Regions from separate parts of the Homo sapiens genome. Here regions 2 and 3 are each linked to region 1. The links are contacts of gene promoters, found by promoter capture Hi-C in blood cells and fetal thymus (Javierre and others, 2016). All regions are on one chromosome and are shown on one strand. Each heading gives the region's core, a stretch centred on a gene start or on the middle of the fragment in contact. The rest is flanking DNA. Distances are from core to core; before and after follow the strand shown. Region 1 holds the start of ADGB (androglobin). Region 2 overlaps ADGB (androglobin). Region 3 overlaps ADGB (androglobin).

The links. The method cuts DNA at HindIII sites, captures the fragments that hold promoters and counts their contacts. A CHiCAGO score of 5 or more calls a contact.
Region 2: a contact is called between a fragment that was not itself captured here and the fragment with the promoter of ADGB in region 1, in 1 of 17 cell types (monocytes). The highest score is 5.9, in monocytes.
Region 3: a fragment that was not itself captured here is called in contact with the fragment with the promoter of ADGB in region 1 in 1 of 17 cell types (monocytes); the score reaches 5.3 in monocytes.

What each region holds. Positions count from the first base shown.
Region 1 is chr6:146,597,329-146,600,369 of GRCh38, forward strand. It overlaps ADGB (androglobin), which reads left to right and starts at 1,644. Exons shown (of 36, transcript NM_024694.4): 1 at 1,644-1,786. The coding sequence starts at 1,713. ADGB-DT (ADGB divergent transcript) reads right to left here and starts at 1,603. Exons shown (of 3, transcript NR_125860.1): 1 at 1,505-1,603; 2 at 742-843. RefSeq lists a silencer at 1,445-1,739. The HindIII fragment of the contact is 3,644 bases long and covers 1-3,041 here.
Region 2 is chr6:146,681,710-146,685,160 of GRCh38, forward strand. All of the region lies in intron 9 of ADGB (androglobin), which reads left to right. Among named protein-coding and RNA genes, the nearest start is that of ADGB, 84 kb to the left of the region's middle. The HindIII fragment of the contact is 1,512 bases long and covers 648-2,159 here.
Region 3 is chr6:146,702,681-146,706,027 of GRCh38, forward strand. All of the region lies in intron 13 of ADGB (androglobin), which reads left to right. Among named protein-coding and RNA genes, the nearest start is that of ADGB, 110 kb to the left of the region's middle. The HindIII fragment of the contact is 2,666 bases long and covers 24-2,689 here.

The sequences.
Region 1 (3,041 bases), core at 394-2,893:
CAAGAAGAAACTCACCTCTCTGTGGGGTTGGCTGCTTAAAGTTGTGCTGTTTTCAGCCAAGAGTCTTTGTATATACTTATAGCTATAAATTTGATTACTCTGACAAAATTTGGTAGTAAATAATTTTTCTCACCATTTAGTCCTCTACTTTCATTCAAGAGAGTTCTCTGGAAATTTGAATTATGGTATAAACAAAGCAGAATCTTCATGATGTGTTCATTGTCTTTACATATATAGGAGATGTTTGCAGGGCAGTCTTGTAGTCATAATATTAACACTGCTGACTTGGAATTTATTTATTTTGCATATAGAAATACAACGAAGGGGCTGTCTGTCATCTAGGTAACCCCCAGTAGTAATCCAATAGTAATAAGATTGGGATAGTCTGACAAACCATAGGCTATGCTGAGTGGAGAGCCCTGAGCATTCATTTGTCAGAGAAGTTGAAAGATTTTCTCTGCAGGAAGCTGCCTCTTGCCTGCACAGGTGGAACTGTGAGCATGTGCCCAGTCCCATGAGTGGAGGGGATTTCTTTTATTTAAAGATACTTAACTATTTCTAGGCTCATGAAAGACACCAACCAGTAGTAGTGGTCCTAGGCCTAAGGGCTGTGTGTCAGATATCTCTGAAGTGAGGTTATATTGAACCAACACAATATTTTGTTTTGTTTTGATAAATTTGCAAGCTCTTGCAGTCTAAGCATGTCTCAGTTAAGCATAGTATCCACTACTCTGTATTTACCTGGCCAACTTCATTCATTCACGCTGTCTGCTGCTCCTCGAAACCAGGTGGTCTGTCATCTCTGAAAGAGTGGCTCCTATTTGCTGCGCTTTGCATCTTATCCTCAAAACAGAACTGTGAGTTAGGTATAACTCCTATTTATAAGTGAGTAATAGGCATCTCCTATTTATAAGTGAGTAAACTGAGACTCAAAGGGAAAAACTAGCCCAAGGCAAGATAACTAACAAATCACCACTGATGACTGAGCCTTAAGCCTGCGCCCTAATAAGTTTCATTTTACTTGGTTCTGTCTGTGTCATCTGGCCCCTGGACCTTTTCTGGAAAGTCTGCAAAGGACCACCTGAGCCCATGACTTGGACTCACTCTTTCATTCGAACAACAAGACACCTTATTGGTTTTATTACAGATATCATCACCTAGCCCTCAGCGACTCAAGGTGTCATTATTTTGCCTTCCTTACACCCACTGTGTTAATTTCTGGACCCCAGGTTTTCAAGCCATTGACAATTTCAGCGTGTCTGTAATGTCTCCTTAGTAATTATTGAAGGTACTTGTTATATTTAGCCAAGAGAATAACTGGGGTGGTACTAGGATAACATCTACGTTCAAATAGTTGGATATTCAAGAGTCGATATATGTCTATGGTTCCGAAGGGCAAAGCCAGGCAGTGTAGGTCCTGCAGAACTCCAATTAATCAGGGCTGCCCAGTAATCCTAATGCCAAACCCGTGCCCCAGAACCTCGATTTCTCCCCAGACACCAACTCCAAGTTCCTCCACGGGGATGTGGGATTTCAGTTTATGCTCTTGCGTCCCTCTGCAGCCACAGGCCGCAGAGCCCGCCCCCAGGGCCCCGCCCCCGCTCTCCGGGCGCTGGACGCGGGACGCCGTCTCCTGGCAACGCAGACGCGGAGCCGAGCGCGCCCGCAGGCTCTTTGCTCAGAGCTCAGCCCTACATAGATCGGCTTCTGCCATGGCCTCCAAACAAACCAAAAAGAAAGAGGTGCATCGTATCAACTCGGCGCACGGATCGGATAAATCGAAAGAGTAAGGGACCTCTGCCTGTCCGTCCCTCCCCTGGCCTAGCCCCTCGACCTCACCACTAGTTCTGGGGCTGCCTCCCTGCAGCAAACTGTGCCAGGGCAGAAGTTTAGTGGCCTCCTCGCAGCTTGTCTTCTCTGGTAAACCAGATCCTGGAGGTGCTCGCTCTCATCCTTCTCTCTTGCTTGTCTTGACTCACTTCCTTTCCCAGAGCCCCTGATTTTCTTGCTTTGGGTGTTCAGCTCCCATGGGTGAATCTGCCACCCCTCCTCTTCTTCATAGCCCTCTCAGGCAGTTAGAAAGGCCATAGCTTTCCTAAGAAAGAGGCATATCTCAAATACTTCTGGTTAAAGCCACATCTTCATGGCCCCGGAAATGATACAGACAGCGAGTGACAGACAGACATGGACACATTTCACCTTAATGGTGATTTTCTAGTTTGCATCTGCCCAGTCCAACGACTACGATCTTTAATCAGATATAGTCAGACGTAAAGTGGCTTCTAAACCTTAAAACATTATAAATGTATAGTTCATGTTACTAACATTTACTCTGAGAAAGTAAACAGACCCTCGCTCATGGAATTTTTATGGTGCCTTTGTCCTGGGCTGGTGTTAGGTGTTGTGTCTTAGGATGTACTTCCCCATGATTATTATTTTCTGTGGTCTGTTTCCCTAGGGATATCCAGTTATCCACAGCATAGGATTGGGGCTGTTTGAACTTACACCATTTCTAATGTTCATTCCCACTGTGAGAGAATCCCAGCTGCCCGCCCTGCTTCAGTGGGATCATTCATGTTCTTCATGCTCTGCCTGATGGGGAGGGCGATGCAATCAATCATTTCAAATTGAATTCTTACATCCTTGATGCCTGTTTCTCCATTTCCTTCCCTGGCTGAAGAATTCCACATTGGACTGATCCCTATGATTCACTGATCCCTAGGATTTAAACTCTTTTTCTTTGTGAATTCTTCTCCCAGACTCATTCCCATGTCTGTGAATCTCTAGTCCCTTAGTTCTAACCTCTCTCATAAGCAGGTTTCCAGTTACCCGGCAGATAATCCATTCCTTTTACTAGCTTAAATTTTAGATATTACATATATAAGTAATATTACATATATAATTTTATATAAATATTACATATGTAATTTTAATAGGATTGCTTTACTTCTGTGTACCAAAGTCAGGTCTTTTCAGCGTTGTCTAATGGCTTCCATTCCTCTAGGTCCAAGGCCGAGGACGCCCTTCAGAATCAGGCCTGT
Region 2 (3,451 bases), core at 154-2,653, 84 kb after region 1:
AGAAATTATGGACTTGGTATAAAAAGTCTTTTACTTTTCAGCTTTGCATCAAATATTGGACCTGCAAACATTGTCTGGTAGGAAGTGGGCCGGAACACATTCGAGTCATTATCCTCTTTAGATATTGCCACATAGAATCATAGACAATAAAAAATTGCCAGAAAGACCAGGGACTACTTTACACTTCACACTTCTTAATTGTGTAGTGGACATGTTACTTAACCTATCCGTAACTCAGTTTACTTGCCTGAAAAATACTGTTAAAAATAGAATTTATTTCATAGGGTTTATGTGAACTGACTCATATGAAATACCTAGGCCTTAGCACAGAGTAGGCATTCACTGAAAGTTAGCTATTCTAAATTAACTAAATATCACATCTGAAAAAAATCATATATAATCTTTAACAAATACTTCTTATGGATTTATAGTAATTTGGGGTTCATCTCACTGGGACTCAAAATTTCAGGCTGAAATTTTTATAGGTTCAGACAGTAAATGTCTAACATAAAATGAAATCAATGATAAAAGTGGTATTTAAGTAATCTTACGTATTTTATAGCAGTCTTCTGAAATATGCTTATAGAAAGCAAAAAAAGCTGTATCACATGTAAAATAAAACATTTAAATCATACAAATGTAGCAAAAGCTTCTTTTGAGCAATAAAATACATATAATTAGTATGGCAGTTGTAGGCCATATAAGACTCATAATTACTGTACAAAATATTTTAAGGCAGTTTTAGAGACTAGGATGTTAAATTTCATTTCATCATTCAAGAGTATATTTTTTCTTAAATTTCTTTCTCAATTATTAAGCATTATTATATGCAGCTGTGCTAATTCAATACAAAGTTACTCCAACAACTGGAAAGATAAGGAAATTTCATGGTCTGTACCATTCATAGTTCACTGAAAGAAATTATAGAGCCCCTAGATTTAAACATTTGCCTTTAAGATATTCTAAAAGCAGTTTTATTGATATATAATAAAATCAAAATGCATTATGGGTGTTCCAATATTGCAGAATCACACAACATATTTACAGAGAGATAATAGAACAAATAGGAATTATCTAAGGCCCTTTAGACCCTTTACAAATAATTCTTATATTTTCTTGGCTAATAAACTTTTTTGAAAATCTTATGAAAATTTTGAACCTTCTCTCTTTTTTTTCCAAATCCTTTGTAGTCTTGGTTGAATGTGTCTTCTGGAGTCCATGTGCTAGAATTTTGATCCCCAATGCAACCATATTGGGAGGTGGGGCCTAATGAGAGGTAATTAGGCCATGAGGACAGAGGGAATGGATTAATGCCATTATCATGGGAGTGGTTAGGTATCCCAGGTGTGGGTTTGTTATAAAAGGGTGAGTTTGGCTATGGGATGACATGCTTATTTGGCCAGGGGATGACACAGCAAAAAGTTCCTCACCAGGCGCCAGCACCTTGATCTTGGACTTCCCAGCTTCCAGAACTGTGGGGAAATAAACTTCTGTTCTTTAAAAGTTACCCAGTCTCAGGTATTTCATTTTAGCAGTACAAAACAGACTAAAGCAGTTAGTGTGCACACAGATCTGCAGTGTTACATAATAGTTCACTGAGTTCTGGGCCCCTGAATCTCATTTATAAGATGTATAAAACTTAGTTTGAAAATCCCTATTTAATAGCACATTCCTATCCAGCTTTTACAGATTGATATTTAGTTAATAGCACCAGTATAGTGATACCAATATTTATAATCAGCTTCTAGTTTAATTAATCTGTGCCCATGCTATACCACTTATTAAATATTTAAAACTTCACCCTTAACTAAACACTTGTGTTATTTTTTAATATTTCAACATTACATATTACAATCCCATGTAAAATGTGTGATTATCCTAAAATTTGGAGCAAATTTTTTTGTCATCAACATCATTTCTATAATATGTCAAGACCACATTCTTTACTCCAAGTTTCTAAAGTTATTGTTTTCTAAGACCTCACCTGGAATTCCCAGGTTTCCATATATTTTATTACATAATGTTATAAAGTAAGTGAGAACTTTTTTCAAAATACTTGTATCACAAACTTTATTTTTAATATCATAAGGAAAATAAAAGTTCAAAAGACTTATTAAAGATCAAGGACAAAGTACTTAATGTGATAATATTAAATATTAAGCTTTAGAAAATTTTAGGGAAGACATCAAAATTTCTAATGCATAATGTACAAATGTGGGATATAATGTGGACCAAAATACTTTTACACGTTATGATTTTTAAAACAAGATTTAGAAAAGAGCTAATGAAATAGATCAACCTGAACGAGCCATGGGGTGCCCAGACATTTGGTCAAACATTATGTAAGGTGTGTGTTTAACATCTGGAAACTCAGCTGACTTTTTGTAAAGAAGCCCAATCTTGCTCAGTAGCCAGGCTCAGAGAGGAACCCTCACTCTTCTTCCCTCCACCTCTCATGCTTCATACTTTCCTAAGGTGTAGACAGCCAACTGCTTAATCTTGAACCTGGAAAGTACATTTAATCTTATCTTCTTCCTTGAGCAGAAAGTTCTGAAGATAGATTAAAAAAACTGATTTTTAAAATTTTATCCATTTTAATATTTAGCAGTCATCACTGTCAGGAACTTCCTCTCCATAACTGGCCTTCAACTCTCAGCTGACACCTAAAGGCATTTCACAATCTTTCTTTTGATTAGAGGACTTATTGGAGGGCTTCAATTAGATTGATCAGTGAGAAAAGTAACTGGACTGTAAATTACTGGTCACTGCTGAGGGCCATTCTGGTCAATGTGGGTATCTCAAATGGTCTTATCTGATGATAGGAGTGCATGAAAAGTATTTTCATAAACATTCATTCTTTTTAAAAGGAATAATTATTTTGCTGCATCCTTAAACTTAAGATGATTAGTTATGTTTAAAAACATATTATTTCATACAAGTTATCACACAATACACAGTACCTTGTATTCCACAAGGAGTAGGTCAAATTATTAACCAAGCCTCTGCAGAGTTAGTTAATCCAACTAACTTTGGATTAAAAGTTAGTTGGGGAGACAGCGTCTGTGGACATTAGATGATAACTAACATCATCAAACAAATGTAGCATAGATAAATGAGTAATGTAGGGAAAAGGCAATCAATATGTGTTGGCAAGGTGTATGAGAAATGTACAAATTTCAATTTTGAAATGTAAAAGTATGTTTCTCTAAGTTTGGCAGATTTTCATATCTCCATTCTAGACATATACTGGGCTGACAACTAATTTATGTTCTGTGGTCTTAAAGATATTATTCTTTTGTAAACATAGTATCAAATATAGTTAAATGTCAGTATGTACGTTTGTAAAAAAATTTAATTAAATATAAAAAGAGGCTAAAATAAATTGACTTCTATTTATTTGTCCAAAATATTTGCAGGACCAAAAAATACTGAATAAAATAATCAAATAGAA
Region 3 (3,347 bases), core at 107-2,606, 110 kb after region 1:
CTAAAGAGTATCTTCATTCTTAAAGCTTCATAATTTTTTATTATGTAAATGAACTGTAGTTTATTTCTATCAATCTCTATAGATGAAATCTTGGGTTGATTTTAATCTTTTGCTATTATAAATACTACTGCTATGAATGAATTTGTACATGTAGTTGGATTGTTTGGCCAACAAATACAATTCTATTGGAATTTTAAAATAATTATTGCTAAATATACACGATAAGATTACACCCAGGTTGTATGAATATTTCCTTATAGCCACATGGAGTGTGTAGGGATTTTTTAAAAATTTTGCCAATCAGATTGGTAAGAAAAAGTAGTTCATTTTGCTTTTCCATTGAACTGGTTGTTATTGTGACTGAACAGCTTTGTATACATTTACTGCCATTTCTGTTTGTGCTGCTGTGCAATGCCTGCTTATGTCTTTTGCCTAATTTCCATTTGGGTTGTATGTTCCTATTTTACCAATTCATAGATGTTCTTTGTGAAATATGGAGACTTATTCTTTATTAGATATGTATTTCATATGTTCTAAGTTTATCTTTTCAATCTTGTCTTTTTAAAATTTATTTTTAATCGATAAAAAATATATGCATTTATAGTGTAAAACATGATGTTTTGAAATATATATATAGCTGAATAACTAAATTGAGCTGATTAATATATGTATTACTTCACGTTCCTTTCATTTTTTGTTGTGAGAACACTAAAATCTTCTGTCTTATCAATTTTCAAGAATACATTAACTATAGACCCCGTGTTGCAAATCAGATCTCTTGAATTTATCTCTACTAACTGAAACTTTGTATCCTTTGACCAGTATTTTCCCAATCACCCACATCTAGCCCCTGGTAACTACCATTCTACTTAGTATCTATTTTTCTGTGTGTGGCTTATTTAACTTCACATAAGGTCCTCCAGGTTTATCCTAGTTATTGCAAATGATAAAGTTTCCTTCTTTTTAAAGGCTGAATAGTATTCTATTTTGTATATATACCATATTTTCCTTATCCATTCATCTGTGGATGGACAATTAGTTTGATTTCATATTTTGGCTTTGTGAATAATGCTATAATGAAGATGGGAAGGCAGGTATCTCTTTCTTCTTTGACACACTGATTTCATTTCCTTTGGATACACACTCAGAAGGAGGATTGCTGGATCACATGATTGCCCTATTTTTAGTTTTTTTTTTTCAACCTCCATACTGTTTTCTACAGTGGCTGCACCATTCTACCTTCTCACCAGCAATATACAAGGTTTCCCTTATTTCCACATTCTTACTAACACTTATTTTTGTATTCTCGATAACAGCCATTTTAACAGGTGTGAAGTGATATCTCACTGTGGTCTTAATTTATGTTCCTCTGATGATTAGTGATGTTGAGCATTTTTTAAAACACATACGTTGGCCATTTGTATGTCTTCTCCTGAGAAATGCCTATTCAGATTCTTCGCTCATTTTTCAATTGGGTTGTTTCCTTGATGATGAGTTGTTTGAGTTCCTTATATGTTTTGAATATTAACCTCTTATCAGATGTATGATTTACAAATATTTTCTCCCATTCTATAGATTGTCTCCTTATAATTGCTTCCTTTTCTGTGCAAAAAAAAAAAAATTTAGTTTGATGTAATTCCTTCTGTCTGTTTGCAATTGTTGCCTGTGCTTTAGGGATTATTTCTTAAAACTTGTTGCCCAGGCCAAGTTCTTGGAGCTTATCCCTTATGTTTTCTTCTAATAGTTTCATACATTCAGCATACATTCAGGTCTTAAAGTTAAGTTCTTAATGCATTTTGAGTTAATTTTTGTATATGGTATGAGGTGACATTCCTCTTTTGTAAATGGATATCCCAAAATCATTTACTGAAGAGACTCTCCTTTCTTCCATTGTGTGTTCTTGTCAATCTTTTTCGACCATAATAGTTTGAATTTATTTTTGACTCTCTACTCTGTTCCATTGGTCTATTTTTATGGTGATATATGCTGTTTGGGTTACTATAGCTTTGTAGTGTATTTTGAAGTCAGGTAGTGTGATGCCTCCTGCTTTGTTCTTTTGCTTTAGCTATTTAGGGTCTTTTGTGGTTTCACATGGATTTTAGGATGTTTTTAATATATCTGTCTAAAATCTCATCAGAATGTTGGTAGATTACATTGAATCTGTACATTGCTTTGGCTAGTATGTGAAAAATCTCATCAGAATGTTGATAGATTACATTGAATCTGTACATTGCTTTGGCTAGTACAGCCATTTTAACAATATGAATTCTTTCAGTTCATGAACATGGGACATCTTTCCATTTATTTGAGTCTTATTTTATTTCATCAATGTTTTATTTTATAGTATTCAGAATATAGGTACCTCCTTAGTTCAATTTATTCCTAAATATGTTTTGGTAGCTATTGTAAATGGAATTATTTTACTGATTTCTATTTTTGTTTTTTGTATGTTGATTTTGTATCCTGAAACTTTATTGAGTTTATATATTAGATCTAACAGGATTTTTAATGGGGTTTTAAGGGGTTCTATATATGATTGTATTATCTGAAAAGAGGAAAAATTTAGCTTCTTTCTTTCCAATTTGAGTGCCTTTTCTTTATTTTGCCTAATTGCTCTAGCTAGGACTTTAGGTGATATGTTGAATAGAAGTGGTTATTTTCCTTGTCTTACTCCTGATCTTAGAAGTAAAGCTTTCAACTTTTCACTGTTGAGTATGTTAGCTATGAGTTTGTCATATATGGCCTTTGTTGTGTTGAAGTACATTCTTTATATTAGTTGTAAGTTGAGAGGTTTTTTAATCATAAAAGGATGTTGAATTTTGTGAAATGCTGTTTTTCCATCTATTCACATGATTGCATGGTTTTTATCTTTTATTCTTTTAATGTGGTATATCATACTTGTAGATTTGCATATGTCAAACCATCCTTGCATCTCTGGGAAAACTCCCACTTAATCATGGTAAATGATCTTTTTAATGTGCTGTTGAATTATGTTTACTAGTATTTTGTTAAGGATTTTTGCATGTATGTTCATCAGCGATATTGACCTAAGGTTTATTTTCTTATAGTGTCCTTGTCTGGCTTTGGTATTAAGATAATGCTTGCCCTGTATAATTAGTTTGAAATTATTCTCTCTTTGTCAGATTTTTTTGGAAGACTTTGAGAAGGATGGTATTAATTATTCTTTAAATATTTGGTAGAATTCAGCAGTGAAGCCATAAGGTCCTGGACTTTTCTTTGATAGGAGACTTTTTATTTTAAGATATAGGGTCTTTCCCTGTTGCCAAGGCTGGAGTGCAGTGGCATGATCATAACTTAACTGCAGCCTTGAACTCCTGGGCTCAAGC